Regions from separate parts of the Homo sapiens genome. Here regions 1 and 3 are each linked to region 2. The links are contacts of gene promoters, found by promoter capture Hi-C in human tissues and cell types (Jung and others, 2019). All regions are on one chromosome and are shown on one strand. Each heading gives the region's core, a stretch centred on a gene start or on the middle of the fragment in contact. The rest is flanking DNA. Distances are from core to core; before and after follow the strand shown.

The links. The method cuts DNA at HindIII sites, captures the fragments that hold promoters and counts their contacts. A contact is called where the count stands out against the background at its distance.
Region 1: a contact is called between a fragment that was not itself captured here and the fragment with the promoter of WDR26 in region 2, in 1 of the 25 tissues and cell types used here (mesendoderm cells).
Region 3: a fragment that was not itself captured here is called in contact with the fragment with the promoter of WDR26 in region 2 in 1 of the 25 tissues and cell types used here (H1 embryonic stem cells).

The regions. Positions count from the first base shown.
Region 1 is chr1:224,725,203-224,728,467 of GRCh38, reverse strand. All of the region lies in intron 3 of CNIH3 (cornichon family AMPA receptor auxiliary protein 3), which reads right to left. The region is part of intron 1 of CNIH3-AS1 (CNIH3 antisense RNA 1); the gene reads left to right. Among named protein-coding and RNA genes, the nearest start is that of CNIH3-AS1, 3.8 kb to the left of the region's middle. The HindIII fragment of the contact is 5,372 bases long and covers 1-3,265 here.
Region 2 is chr1:224,433,040-224,436,314 of GRCh38, reverse strand. WDR26 (WD repeat domain 26) reads left to right here and starts at 1,518. Exons shown (of 14, transcript NM_001379403.1): 1 at 1,518-2,631. The coding sequence starts at 1,910. It also overlaps a transcript of CNIH3 not described here. RefSeq lists an enhancer at 610-799 and a silencer at 1,140-1,539. The HindIII fragment of the contact is 17,142 bases long and covers 1-3,275 here.
Region 3 is chr1:224,873,640-224,876,782 of GRCh38, reverse strand. No RefSeq gene overlaps it. Among named protein-coding and RNA genes, the nearest start is that of DNAH14, 54 kb to the left of the region's middle. The HindIII fragment of the contact is 4,981 bases long and covers 1-3,143 here.

The DNA.
Region 1 (3,265 bases), core at 406-2,905, 290 kb before region 2:
CCAGAGGTGGTGACCCTTGGTGGGTGAAGCAGGTACCACCAGCCCCTGTGAATCTCAACCACCTGGCAGGAGGGGGCACGCCATGTCCCTATTGTATCTCCTTATAGGACCTCAGAGCTGTGATAACCAATCCTATCTACCCCCAGCCAAGGCATCACCCTACCCCCTCCCATTCAAAGAGAAAGCCCACTTTCTCAGAGCTGGGTGCGCCAGCCCCGGGAGGCAGTGGCTGTGAGTTCTGCTATGCACATCTCTACATTTTCTAATCATCAGTTTCAGCCACTTAAGCTGAGGCAATTAACATGTTTAGAGACAGCCACCGTGGGCCTGAATCATCCATTATTTCTCCATCTCCATCTCCAATTCCAATGACAAATCTCTGACTGATTACAGTTTGGATTTCAGGTCCCACTCTTAATCACCACTGCTTCTTCTCTCTTTGGGGCTTGATTTATTGTGGAGGCTGCAACCTTCCAAGCAGGGAGGATTCATCACTGTCTCCACGTAGAGGAAAACTGCTTAATGCAGGCCAGCTAGTCACGGAGGTCTCCAGCCTTTTGGAGGTTGGGAAAAAAGCTGAAGAATTTATTCTGCCATTTCAGGTGGCTTCTCTAGATGACCTCTTATGCCTAGAACACTGAACAGGATCCTTACAAGTAGAAGAGGCTCCTCCAATTAATCCAGAGACTTTTAGGAGTGACAGTGACCTTTTGATACACACACTGATCCTTGCCTACTTCACCAGCTGCTTCTTGTCACAATGATGTGGAAGAGGTAAGGAACCTCTTCCTTCTAGACCAAATGGAAATCAGCCAGGCCATTTGCATGAGGCCTGCACCATAGCCATTATGGCTGCCTCCACTCACACCCAGCACTCAGCCTTCTGGAAGGTGGTAAGGTCTCATTTTCCAGCTCTCAGGGGTTGGGGCTGCTGATGGGCTGTGGGCAGAAGTGATGTGGAGAGAAGGCCAGACCACTTAACGGCTGATACAAAATTCTCCAGAGTCTCTTTTCCTTTTCCTCTGACAAAGCAAAAAGCATTTAGGATGGTGGGTACTCCATCATCCTGAAGCCACAAGTAAGGAAAGAGGCCCCCAGGCAACTCATGATGGACTAGAGTGTGAGCAGTAAAGAAACTTGTGTTGTTTTAAGCTGCCAAGAGTTGAGTGTTGTTGTTGTTGTTGTTGTTTTGCCATAGCATGATTTAACCTATCTCATATGATACCATCAGCAAGCCCCAGACTGAGTAATCAATGGGAAAAGCAAAGTTGTGCTCTTCACTGTTTATCCTCCCCCAACCATCCACTCAGCCCTTCCTTAACAAGCCATCGAGGCCGGCAGGACACAGCTCCCTGTCACCGGACATGCTCGGGCAGGGGCTGAATAACCACCAGGCAGGCATAATGCTCATTCATTTGTGTGGGCAGTCAGACCAGGCGTTCCCTCCCAACTCTGAGAGTGTCTGTTATATAAGGACCACCCCTAAAGCTTCTAAGCAAAATACAGAGATGCTGATGCAAGCGCTCACCACAGCCCCATGACCCTGAGTCATCCCTTAGCTTTGGAAAACACTTTTTTTTTTTTAATAAGAGAAGCTGTTGAATGGTGCCAATCTCATTCTTTCAACAAATGGAGAAACTATTTCATGCAAGCCACAGCCTATTGAATTGCCATGTATTATTACCCTGCTTTCTAGAGTCATAAATCCTAAATCTCAATATAAGTATTGTGGGATTACTGAAAGACTGCAATTCATTCCAACCAGGGGGATCATGGAAGGTTTGTGATCAAAGGGAAGTTGGAAAGGGCGAGTAAAACCTAATCACTTATGGGAACCAGAGGTCGGCATCCTAGAAGTGGAACAGTGAAAGCAAAAGCATAGAGAGATGGAAGTCACTGGTCTGGGGTGGCTCCTTAACAAGGCCACCTCAAAGGGCCCCTATTAAAGGACATTAATGATAACCGGTAAGGACTGTGTAAACGCTAACTGTATTCCACCTGTCCTGACTTCCTACCCAGATGCTAATAGTCAATTTTCATTTGCTGGCAAACATTTCCACCTGGATATCCCACAACCACTTTGTGCTGAAATTCACATTCCTATCAGTACCTGCAAACTTTATCTCCTAAATTTCCAACTTCTACTAACCATACCATCTCTGACTCCTTCTTCTCATCAGTCTCCATGTAAGTCTGTTTCCAAATCTTGCTTCTTCACAGCCACTTGCATTTGTTCCTTCCTTTTTATTTATCCTGCCCCTGGACCTCCTCTCCAGGCTGGTGCAAGAACCTTCTAGCAGGTTTCCATCCCTGCACACATGTGCCCTCCACCCAACAGAGCAGTATATGCCATGCTCAGCTCAGCTGTAAGCCATTGTCCACAATCTTGTTTTTCCAGGAATTTTACTTGTCTGCATTCTAAATATTTTATTTCTAGTTATGTATCCTCTCATTCATTCATGTATCCATTTGTTTGCTGTTTTATCCCATCAATGACCTGCAGCTGATTGGTACCCTTTATAGATTATGAAAACAATAGAATCGTGTGCCAAGTCCTGTCTTATTTTTACTACTGTGGTGGAGAGGGGCATCAGGGGTTGTGGGAGAGATTCTTCTTACCCCTAAAGGAAAAGAAGTAGGAAGGGGATGCTTGGAGTTGAAGCAAGGGAATAATGCTCCTGGTGGAGAAAAGGGATTCCTTAAGACCAGGGGAAGGGAGAAGATGAGGGAGATGAAGAGGCAGCAAGCGCCCCTGTTGTTGGAGATCCGTCTGCTCCTGGCTCTCATCATGCATTCCAAGGGCATAGGTTTTCTGAGGGGCTGGTGTCAGCATGCCTGGGACCAAACACTTTAAAAGTCACAGCTATGGAAGCCACAGGGAAGCTCCTGGCACTGAGTTTATCTTGAAGACAGTAGAAGCTGTGAGACTCAGAGTCTCTACCCATCTCTGAATGCCCCTGTCGACTCAGACAACAAGCTTTACAGCTGTAATCCCATAAGTCTCAATATATTAGCCCAGTGTCTCAAAGCATTATATAAATTCCTACAGTTACATAATACTCAACTGTGTGCTATTTAGAAAAGCAGCTACCCATGCTGAGTCTTATTTTACCCATCTGTAAAATGCCATACCTACCAGCCAGGGACACAGGATGTACTATGAATGACAGTGCTCTCAAAAGTGAAGAAGCCTCCAGCAAAAGAAGACACCACTATTGTTATTGTGTTGTGATCATTATTATCATTATTATTTTTTCTGAGATAG
Region 2 (3,275 bases), core at 269-2,768:
ACAAACAGGGCTCTCTGAGGGTGTTAACTATCTAGTAATTCAGGCTCTGCTGGATACAGTGACAGAGCTCTATGAACCTCAACTAGAACTCAGGTCGGCCTCAGGTGAATATAAACACTGTATGTGAGTCACCTTGCAATTACAGCTGCCACCTGGAAGCAAATTTAAGCAGTAAGAACTACAAAACCAAATCCCTGTAAGATCCTGCATTGACCTTCCTCTTACTTCTTCCTGTCTGAGGATCCATAAACCTCAGGATTCTTTACTAATTTCTCATCAGCATCATTTTTTATTGTATTTCCAAATTTAAAAACAACTGTCTCCAAAGGCCTCAAAATTACTTTCAGTTATTACTATAATAAATATCAGCGATGTATGATGTATTAATTAGAAACTAAGGTGTTTTTTTTCCCCTCCCCACAGGAAAACTACTTCAGAGAAAGACTTTAAATTTCTGAGAAAATCTTTATACATATTGAGTATAGATGCTATCAACCACATACATGAAAATAATTGTTTGGGGATAATGCACACCATTTGCCAATGATTAAGATTCAGCCCAGTCTTTGTTGCTGCATTTCTACATTCACATAAATTGGTAAGTCATGATGACACAGAAGGCTCACATGCCACGTAAAAATTTCAAGCCTGGATCTGAATGGGTGCCTGAATCCTTCTCAGAATGCATATTTTGGAGGCAACTGTTTGGTTTATGTTACTGCTCCCTAAACTGGGCAGTGACTCAAGAGGCAGCTGGAAGAGAGAAGGAGGTGCTGGGCAAGTGCTAAAAAAGAGTGAAGCCTCAACAGCAGAGTCCCTCCCCTTCTCTACACACCACACAGCCTTTTTGTGACTTCTTGTCCCCATAAGATATGCTCCTCTAGACTAACTCCCCTTCCCAGGGTGGAGCAGAGTCTCACCGGCTCATTATCTCACAGCTCCCGGGATGGCCCCGGGTACAGCAACTGTGTGGCACTTGGCTGTGGAAATTCAAGTTTTTCCACCCTAAAACAAGTAGGTTGTGAAACCCGATTTCGGTCCTGGTTACCATTGAGAGGGGCCTACCACAGCCCTGTGCCTGGAAGTTCCTGCCTGTCGAAGCTCCTAGCCCCCTGCCCCATCCTCACCTTCTGCACCTGATGGAGAAGGTGCAGTCCCTCCGCGCACCTTACATGCCCATGCCACACTGGTGGACTCACGCACGCACGCCAACTCTGCCATCCCATGCACGCCCGGCTTCGGAGGGCGGCTACGAACTTACTGCTCGTCGAGCCAGCCGAGCCAGGGCGCAAGGGGAAAGGCCCGAGCGGGGCCGGGGATAGGATCGGATAGGAGTCGGGGTCGTGGATGGGGTCGGGGCGGACCCCGCCGGCCCGCTGGCCTCCCTCCCCTGACCCCCGGGACAGCCCCCGATGCACGTGCTGGGTGACAGGCCCCCTATAGGTTCCATACCTGCCACCGGAAGTGAGTGAGGAGGGCAGTATAGGCATTTCCTGTGACGCGAGCGCCTGGACTCCATTAGGCAGCAGCTGGGGGAAGAATCAACACACCAGGGAGCAGAGCGGAGCGGATCCGAGGACAGAGGCGGCAGCTGCCTCCGCTGCCGCCCGCCGCCGCCGCCGCCGCAGCCACTGCCGGGGCTCAGCCCAGCGGCGGGCCCCGCGCCCCCGCAGCCGCCCCGCGGCGCCCCCCGGCGCGACCCCCGGGCCGCGCACCCCGAGCTGCCTCCGGGAGGGGGGGGGGAAAGGGCCCGGATCCTCCTTCTCCCCCTCCTCCTCCTCCCCCTCCTCTCACCCTCACCCTCACCCTCCTACCCTGACCCCCTCCCCGCCTCCCCGGCCCCCCTCACCCCGACCCTCTCCCCGGCCCCCGCCTCCCCTCCCCCGCCTCGCCCCACCGGCTTCCCACCACGGCCTCTCTCGGCGAGGAAACTCTGGCCTCCGCTTCCTCCTCCTCCGACTCGGACACCGGCGGAGCCTCCCCGCCCCCGCGGAAGAAACCCCGAGCCTCGGCGGCGGAGGGAGTAGGAGAGCCCGGGGCTTCGGCAGGCAGAGCAGGCCTCTCCCCTCCGTCCTCGTCGTCCTCGTCCTCCTCCTCCTCCTCCTCCTCCGTGGTGGTAGTGGTGGGACTTCCCCCGGCTGCTGCCCCTCCCGCCGCCGCTGCTGTCCCCCACCGAAGTAGCGGCCACAGCCTGGTCAGCGGCAGCATCATGCAGGCCAATGGGGCAGGAGGAGGAGGAGGAGGTGGCGGCGGCGGCGGTGGAGGAGGAGGGGGCGGCGGGGGCCAGGGACAGACCCCGGAACTCGCCTGCTTGTCGGCCCAGAACGGGGAGTCGTCCCCCTCGTCGTCGTCGTCCGCGGGGGACCTGGCCCACGCCAATGGGCTCCTGCCTTCCGCCCCCTCCGCCGCCAGCAACAATAGCAACAGCCTGAATGTCAATAACGGGGTTCCCGGCGGGGCGGCCGCCGCATCCTCAGCCACCGTCGCAGCTGCCTCCGCCACCACCGCCGCCTCCTCTTCCTTGGCCACCCCAGAACTGGGCAGCAGCCTCAAGAAGAAGAAGCGGCTCTCCCAGTCAGATGAGGATGTCATTAGGCTAATAGGACAGCACTTGAATGGCTTAGGGCTCAAGTAAGTATCCCTTACCGCCAGCTGGTGATGGACAGACCGAGGGACGGAGGCTCCAGGGGGGTAGGGGAAGGGGCGGAGGGGGGAGGGGGGCTTGAAAGAGCTCGGTCAAAGAGAATGAGTGCTGGGCACGCAGGACCCAGTACACAGGAGGACGCGGCTCAGGGCGACCGGGGAGGAGGAGCGGACCTGAAAGGAAATAGGGGAAAATCAATCAGTCTGACAAATTGTGAGACGAGACAGGCGTTGAGGGGTTAGGAAGGGTTAGGAGAAACCCAAAGAATGACTTCTCCCCACGCACCTTCAGAGCTTAATTGTCTGTCAATAAAGACAGATGCGGGAGTGTGTTTCTGTATGTGTTGGGGGAGGGGTGGATTAGAGCTGGTGGAAATAATGAACCTTGGAGGATTTGTTTTTCAAGTGTATCTTGGAGGCATCTTTGTGGGACACCTCCCCACCCCCAACCGTGGCAGACAACAACCCAAGCAAACTACCAATCAGGAAAGACAATCACCTACAAGTGTTTATGGGAACGGAGGGGCTGGGATCATTTGGAAAGAGGTTGTTGAATAAATCTGATGCGAATAATGAAGATACAGTGTTGATGTCGTTTAAAGGCCCTTGTGTGTGTGTACAAGAGGCCTAAC
Region 3 (3,143 bases), core at 292-2,791, 440 kb before region 2:
TGAAGATTTTCTCCCACTCTGGGTTGTCTGTTTACTCTGCTGATTATTTCTTTTGCTGTGCAGAAGCTTTTTAGTTCAATTGGGTCACATCTATTTATTTTTGTTTTTGTTGCATTTGCTTTTGGGGTCTTAGTCATGAATTCTTCGCCTAAGCCAATGCCTGGAAGAGTTTTTCCAATGCTTTCTTCTGGAATTTTTATGGCTTCAGGTCTTAGACTTAAAAGTCTTTGATCCATCTTGAGTTGATTTTTTATAAGGCGAGAGATGAGGATACAGTTTCCTTCTTCTACATGTGTCTTGCCAGTTTCCCCAGCACCATTTATTGAATAGGGCATCCTTTCCCCACTTTCCTAGTATATCAATATTAAAACCTGCAGGGACTTCCATTGCGTTTGTGAGAGCCCAGCACTCCTTTGCCCAAGCATTATGCCTTCACTGCTACCTCAAACTCATCTCCCAAGCCTGAGTAAATGCATCCCAGGCTTCAGCCACTCTGAACTACCAGATCAAATGCACCCTGCCTTTGTTCACTGGGTTCCCTCTGCTGGCAAACTCTCACTCCTCCTTCAAGACTTAGCTCACTGAAGCCTCTCTTGACTTCCATTTAATGTTACCTCCATTAGGATACTTACCACTATTGCCTACACCTGTAATCTTTAGCCCTGAGCTCACTCGGGGATCTTGTAAAAAACACTAGTGCCAGCCTGAGCAATACGGTGAGACCTGTCTCTACAAACATTTTAAAAATTAGCTGAGCATGGTGGTGCATGCCTGTGGTCCCAGCTGCTTGAGAGGCTGAGGCAAGGAGGATTGCTTGAGTCCAGGAGGTTGAAACTAAAGTGAGCCACAAACACACCACTCCACTCCAGCCTGAGCAACAAAGCAAGACTGTCTCAAAAACAAAAAGCCAAAAACCAATGCTTGGGCCCTACACCCAGAGATTCAGACCCTGCTGGTCTAGGGTGAGCCCTGGAGGGAGGTACTTTGAATTCTGGGGCACTGGATTCATCCTCAGCACCTTCCCCAGGACGTGGAACAAAATAGGACTTCAATTACAAATCGTGTGTTTGTTGAGTGAATAAAACAAGCAGCTTTAAACCCCTCTGTCAGTCAGGTGCTGTTATCTCATTTGCAACTGAAGAACTGAGGCTGAAGGACATTAAGTGATTTGTCTAAGATTACAGGGAGCAACTTGAATTTAATTCTTCTGATTCCAAGTGTGGTGTTCTGCCTGTGCATACGGAAGAAGGACGACACCCAGGAATGTGCCCACTGCAGATGGGAGCTGGAAGAAACTGCCGTTATGTGGAGCTCAATGTCTCCTTTTGGTTATTTTGATGCATGTTTGGGGAGGGACTTTTGCTGTCCCAGTGCATTGTCTTGAATTTTAAAGGTTATCCTTAAAACTCATGCTTCCTTAAAACTTTTTCCCTCCTCTTGCTTTTAATGAATTATGAGCCATTACTTATTTATAACTAATCTACTGCTGCCTTTATGAGGCAGAAAATGAACTACTTTCCAAAGTAATTACCCTTTTTATAGACTTAGAACAAATGCCCATAGCCCCTTCCTTTCTATATGGCTGGTGCGCTAGGTTTCTACTGTCTTGTTTGACATGCCTCAGTCTCTATGCTTGTAATAGATCCATTTAGATTATTTTTCTAACTCACCCTAGAAGCCAGACAGACTTGCTCAGAAAGCTGGCTTGTTCCTGCAATAAATCAAGCATTTTGAGCAAAAGGCTGTTCCTCTCCCAACAGTGAACACGTGCCTTAATATTAACACAGCCTTCTCGGGGCCTTAAGACTAATACAGCCTTCTCCAGAACAGACGCCGCAAGACTAACACGGCTCATAATCTGCTTTTCACAGGTGCACTGAAGTGTGCGGTCTGGTCACCCAGCCCGGCAGCCAGAGGGGAAGCCTTGCCCTTTATTCAGCTTAGGGCAGAAACCATTCAGGCATTCATGTCAAAAGAAAAATCACTGCAAAAGAAAAATGAAAACCCTACTAGTTGTTAATTTGACTCAATATTTATATTTAATAGTTACATTTAATATTGCTATTATAAATGTCATTTTCCCACTTTTGATGGGACTTTATATATAAATGTATATACACAGAGCAACATATTCATTTAATAATCATTCATATTGTTTCTAAAATGAACTGAACACTGTGGAAGTTGCTGTCACCAGCTATTTCATCACATCTCCTCCATATTTCAATTTTTACTGAATATTATATTAGAAGTCTAAAATCCTCCAAGCTCCAAATATAACTTTTAAAGGCAATATCAAATCAATATTTAAAAGAGTGAGGGTAGGAAATCCAGTAGAATTGCAAACCCATTACAGATAGATTTCAATGGTCTGGATTCGTTAAGAAAAAGGATTTTAAAATAAAAATGCATTAGGTCTACAGTCAACATGATCCTCATATTTTGCTCTCTGACCATGGCTCAGAAATTGCCAGGTCTGGCCTCTCATTTCTTCTTTCCCAGGATTACAAGGAAGACTTTGAACTCAGCTCCAGAGTTCACCTAAAGATTAACCTGTAAATGGACTGTAGCTGTTAAAAAGAAAAAAAAATTGTGAGTCCATTAGGCTGAGAAGACTCTTGTGCCTCAGATTCCTGCAAAAGCAAACCTAAGCTCAATATAAACAGAAAAATGAAACTTAAGCTTAACCAATCAGAAACCACCAGTTAACCTCTAACTAGGAACTTTCCACTTTAGCCAAATTTTTTTTTATATAAAAGTAAATATTTTTTACTTCCCCAAACACCTTATAAAATTTTCCTCTCTCTGCCTCCCGGGTCCCCCACAGTGGAGTGCTGAACCATGGGTGGTCCAGTGTTATTGATTCATGAATTCCTGTCTACTCAAATATACTCTTTAAAGTTTTAATGTGCCTAAGTTTATCTTTTAAAATAGCCCATGATGTGGTGGCTTTTAAACTTTATTTGGGGATGATAATCAGAGGTGCCATAAGCAGCAGTGAGATTTTAAATGAGTCACTAAAACCCGTCTTGGCTCAGTTTTCCTTATTGTGAAATGAGGCATCTGTGGATTTATGACAAGAGCTAGGAAGCGTGGAGTAATCTGTAGGTGGGAAAAAAGAATTGCAGATCATATGAAAGATT